Regions from separate parts of the Homo sapiens genome. Here region 1 is linked to region 2. Evidence: promoter capture Hi-C in 16 types of primary human blood cells and fetal thymus (Javierre and others, 2016). All regions are on one chromosome and are shown on one strand. Each heading gives the region's core, a stretch centred on a gene start or on the middle of the fragment in contact. The rest is flanking DNA. Distances are from core to core; before and after follow the strand shown.

Region 1 (2,700 bases), core at 108-2,607, 110 kb before region 2:
AAATAGGGAAGTTCTCACCGAGAAGACAGTCTTTGAGAAGAGCAGGTAAAGGAGTGAACTGTATGTGGGAGTATGTGTGTATGTACATGGGGGAAGAGAAGCCAGCCGTTCTTAACCTGGAGACCATAGACTCTCCTCTCCATGGGTCTGTGGATAGAATTCAGAGGATCTTGACCTTAGGTGAGAAAAAAATTACAACTTTATTTTCACTAATTAAAATGTAGCGTGTCCTTCAATTATGAATACAGATAACAAATCAGTGATATTAGCAGCACCTGTGACATTACTGCTGGTAGAAATCACAGATATTTTCATATCACTTTAGAGTTGTTGCAAATATCTTAAAATATCGTTACACTTTATGAGTAATTTATTGAAAAAGTATCATTTTACTCATCACTACTTCAAAATCATGCTGCTAACTCTTATAATTTAATGAATTAATAGAGAAGCACATATATATGTTTAAATATTTCGAGAGTTGTATTTCAGTACAATTTGTTTTCTTAATGATTTGTGGAACTTATTTTATGGATTTAAAGATACTATACTCAGAAGGAGTCCACAGGTGTCACAGACTGCCAAAACAGTCCATGGCACATGCACAAAAAAGGTTAAGAACCAAGGTCTCAAGAGACCAGCAAGTGCAATGCCTCCGAGGCAGGAATATGCTTAATATGTAAATGAAAGAGATTATATAGGGCCTTTTAGGTCATTGTTAGGAATTTGGCATTTGCTAGAGTGATATGGAGAGTTTTGAGCAGAGGACTGAGATGATCTGACCCTGGGTTTAACAGGTCTCTTGGCTGTTACATGGAGAACAGATTTAAGAGGCAAAGCTGAAGCAGGAAGGCCAGTTGGGAGACCACCTGAATAAACCAGGTGAGAGATGATTGGACCAGAGCGGTAGCAATGGAAGTGGTGGAAAGCGGTCATCTACATTTTGAAGGTAGCTCTGACAGAATTTGCTGATGGAGTGAGAGAAAAAGAAAGAAGTCAAGGACAACGATAAGTGTTTTACCTTGAACCAATGGAAAGATGGAGTTGTCCTTAACTGAGATGGAGGAAACTGGAAGGAGTAGGTTTTAGGGGATTAGGAGCTCAGTGTTGGACATATGAAGCTTGAGATGCCTATTTGACATCCAAGTGCAGCCATTGACAGGCAGCTAGACATGATAGCCTCAGCTCAGGGGCAAGGTCTGGGCTGAAGATGTCATTGGAGAGTGGTCAGTGAGCAGATGGATGGTATTTAAATTTGAGATCATCAACTAAGTGAACATAGAAAGAGAAGGGGCTCAAGGATGGTACCCTTCAGCACTGCAAGGTAAAGATGTCTGAAAGATGAAGAGGAATCAGCAAAAGTGTTGTTAGTGTTGTTTAAAGAAAAAAAAAAGCATTCAAAGAGATAGGAATATCCTGGAAGCCAAAGGAAGTGAGAGAGAGTTGCAGGAGGGAAGAAAGCCCTATGTCCAAAGCTGTGGAGGGGTCAGACAAGCTGGAGGCTGAGAATTGATCATTGGAATCATCAACATGGAGGTTACTGGTGACCTTGACAAGAGCCATGTCAATGGAATAATGCTAGCAAAAGCTTGATTGAAATAGTTCAAGATAGAGAGGGAAGGTTTCTAGTTGTCACAACTTGTTCTCAGATGCTACCTGAAAATGAGATGTCCTCTGTATATATTTATCTGTGAATGTTTATAGAGATGGATAACTACGTATCTGTAGAAATTTAATTCAAACAGCTTCTGTTGAGGATCTTCTGTGTACTAGGCATGGTAATGGATGCTACAAATACTGAGAGAAATAAAACACATTAATTGCCTTCCAAGGGTCACAGTCTAGCAAACTTTGTTGGCACACGAAATACACACAAATCAATATACATGACTAAATACACACAGTCACTCTGGACATCAGTTTTTCTAGTGTAATAGACAATATGATTAAAACTGTGGATTCCAGAATCAGGCAATCCTTTGTTTGAGTCCTGTCTCCACCATTCTCCAGCTCTGTTACTTTGCACAAGTCAATCAACTTCTCTGTGCCTCAGTCTCCTCCTCTGTAAACTAGGGATGCAATCATTTCCAAACTTTAGTGTGGATGGGGTGCATGGGATGCATGTTAAAAATGCAGATTTTTTTTTTTTTTTTTTTTTTTTTTTTGAGACAGACTCTTGCTCTGTCGCCCAGGCTGGAACGCAGTGGCACGATCTGGGCTCACTGCAACCTCCGCCTCCCAGGTTCAAGCGATTCTCCTGCCTCAGCCTCCCAAGTTGCTGGTATTACAGGTACACATCACCATGCCCAGCTAATTTTTGTATTTTTAGTAGAGACAGGGTTTCTCCATGTTGGCCAGGCTGGTCTCGAACTCCCGACCTCAGGTGATCCACCCGTCTCGGCCTCCCAAAGTGCTGGGATTACAGGCGTAAGCCACTGCACCTGGCCCCAGCCTTTTTTTTGAGATGGAGTCTCACTCTTGTCGCCCACGCTGGAGTGCAGTGGCACCATCTTGGCTCACTGCAACCTCTGCCTCCAGGGTTCAAGTGATTCTCCCGCCTCAGCCTCCTAAATAGCTGGGATTATAGGTGCCACCATCATACCCAAGTACTTTTTGTATTTTTAGTAGAGATGGGGTTTCACCATGTTGGCCAGGTCTCGAACTCCTGACCTCAAATTATCCGCCCGTCTTGGCTTCCCA
Region 2 (2,700 bases), core at 135-2,634:
GGAGGAACAAAGAATTGACAGACAGGAGTGTGTGTTGGTGGCGGAGGTCACAGAGACCTTGAGGCTTCTTCATCAGTTCAGCATGTCAAAATACATTTTGGGGTGTTGGTTTCTGAGCCCCAACACCCAGTTACTGTAGTTGAATGCTTCCAGGGATGGAAAATTCACCACTTAAAAGGAAGCTCTTTTTTCTCTCAGTGTGTCTGCTACCTGAGACTCGAACAGACAGCAGAGTCATGCCAGCTAAATAAAAACTTTCAGGTCCAGCCAGTTACGATGGCTCATACCTGTAATCCCAGCATTTTGGGAGGCTGAGGGAGACGGATCACTTGAGCTCAGGAGTTCGAGACCAGCCTGGGCAACATGGCGAAACCCTGTCTCTATTTAAAACCAAGTCCAAACTTGCTCATTTCCTCTGGACACATTGTTTCTGGCTCCTTCCAGCATCTTTTGTAAACACAGGTGTCACTGTTCTGGTTAAAATCCTTCAGCGGCTCCCCATTCTTGGGATCTAGCCAGGATCCCTGCCTGGCCTACTGGCCTTGCTGACCTCTGCAACTTCATCTTCTCCATTCTCTACCTGCCCTGCCCCGCCCCCCAACCCCTCCTACCCCCTATCTTGCAATTCTCTTACCAGGCCATGCTCTCTCTTGCTTTGACCGACTCCCCTTTACTCAGAAAACTGCTCATTCTTCACTTCTCCAGGATCACTTCCCTGACCCCAAGACTAGATTGGGTCCCTTGCTTATTCATGGTTGTAGCACGCTGAACTTCTCTTTACTAATACTTGTCAACGCTGAAATTCTCCATTTACTTGAGCAATTATGTCACTAATGTCCACTCCTCCACTCCATGGTAAAGTTCAGGCGAGCAGGGCTCCGAATGTGCTCTCATTGCCTCTCCAGCACCTAGCAATGTGCCTGGCAAGTATTCACGGGATGGATGGATTACTCGCTCCAGGAAGGCGGGCCCCAACCTTCGTGGCTGTGGAGACCCCTGGAAGTCGACCGTGACCCGGGCCCCCTGATGTCGCTCAGGATGAGGCGGTGCCCGGGAAACTCTCAGGGCAAGGGCACAGCATAGCTCTGGCTGGCATCCAGCTGCCAACTGGAAGAGGGCGCTCCGAATCTGTGTTTAGGGACCTCAGTTTTCCCACCGGTTCCCCGCAGGGTCGACCGCAAAAGACCCTTGTAGCCCTGGGTAGACCCAGGGCAGGAGCCACGGGCTGCGGCGGTCTGAGGAGCCAGGAGCCGCTCTGTGCCCCCGCAGGCCGCCGCTCCGGGCGAGGGCGCTCCAGGTTGGTCTTCTGGAGCAGTCGTGCGCTGATGGGGCCCCTCTGGCCGGCAGGCGGTGGCGCAGTGCGCGTCGGGAAGGCGGCGGGCTATCCGGTCCTCGGCTGCGGCGGGCACCATGGTCGGTGGCGAGGCGGCTGCCGCAGTGGAGGAGCTGGTTTCGGGGGTGCGGCAGGCGGCCGACTTCGCGGAGCAGTTCCGCTCCTACTCAGAGAGCGAGAAGCAATGGAAGGCCCGCATGGAATTCATCCTGCGCCACCTGCCCGACTACCGCGACCCGCCCGACGGCAGTGGCCGCCTGGACCAGCTGCTCTCCCTCTCCATGGTCTGGGCCAACCATCTCTTCCTAGGCTGCAGGTGCGGACCCCTGCCGGCCGGCTGATCCTGTCCCCTATCTTCCGACCCTCAAGGCCTCTCCCAGGGCTCACCCCTGACCCGAACCTCTGCCCCAGACTGAACCCGGGCCCAACCTCCATCCGCATTGGTCGGCCCGAAGACTGATTCCCACCCTGGAGGCCCCTTGGAAAGATCCTTATCTTTGAGCCTCAGTTTTCTCTTCTGGTAAAAGGGTGGTTATGATGGCTGTAATAATTAAAGGGTGAAGAGCTAAATACATGGCGGGTTCAAAGGTTGCTATTGTTATTTGTATTACTATTATTATTAGCTCAAACCATCACCTTTGCAGTATGCATTCGAAGTCCGTTAGCCCCTGTCACCTACATGGCAAACGTGCAGAGAGAGAAACGGAGATCCCCATTTTACAGATGAAAAAGCTTAGGGAGAGAAGTGATATACCTGGGGCCATGCAGCTTCTGGCAGGATTGATGGATTTTAATCACTAATGAGAGGATGTAATCTGTATCCTATGGCTTTTTCTCCTCACTCCACAGCCCACGGGGTCCTAAGTAGGAACCAGCTTCACCTCTCTGCTTTCCCTCTTATGAAAATGGCCGATGCCTTTTTGTGAAGGTCTCAAAGCCCACTTCATCCTGGCTGCAGCACCAAAAGGACAAAGGCCCGCTTTTGAAGTGCCTGATAAGGCATTCCTTTCACCCCTCCATGAGGAAGGTGGCAAATCTTGAGACTCCCTATTAGAGAGCTTCGATTTTCCTGAAATTGTGTTAGGAAAATAGGGTGACTTGGTTTGATCTTGGTTTCTATACCTATTATGGCTGCCTGACTCTGGTCATTTGGCCCCTGCAGGCCTAAGCCACTTGGTTTTGCTTCACATATTGGGGTTTATTAGAACAGTACGTAGGGAAGCAATGCCAGAGGCACCCGTCCCTTTTCCCTGCCTTCTAGGTGCTCCTGGGAAATCCTGGTTTTCCATGGTTAGGCAAATGTCAGAGAATTGGGGAAATAAATAATGTTTTTGTTAGACTAACATTCCATGTATTTAAAAAATAAA

The links. Contacts are between HindIII fragments. The CHiCAGO score rates a contact against its expected background, and 5 or more counts as called.
Region 1: a contact is called between a fragment that was not itself captured here and the fragment with the promoter of CDKN2AIPNL in region 2, in 5 of 17 cell types (endothelial precursors, naive CD4 T cells, megakaryocytes and 2 more). The highest score is 7.2, in endothelial precursors.

The regions. Positions count from the first base shown.
Region 1 is chr5:134,519,360-134,522,059 of GRCh38, reverse strand. No RefSeq gene overlaps it. Among named protein-coding and RNA genes, the nearest start is that of JADE2, 5.0 kb to the left of the region's middle. The HindIII fragment of the contact is 467 bases long and covers 1,124-1,590 here.
Region 2 is chr5:134,410,565-134,413,264 of GRCh38, reverse strand. CDKN2AIPNL (CDKN2A interacting protein N-terminal like) reads left to right here and starts at 1,384. Exons shown (of 3, transcript NM_080656.3): 1 at 1,384-1,649. The coding sequence starts at 1,411. RefSeq lists enhancers at 516-1,253, 1,241-1,730, 1,254-1,992. The HindIII fragment of the contact is 16,822 bases long and covers 1-2,067 here.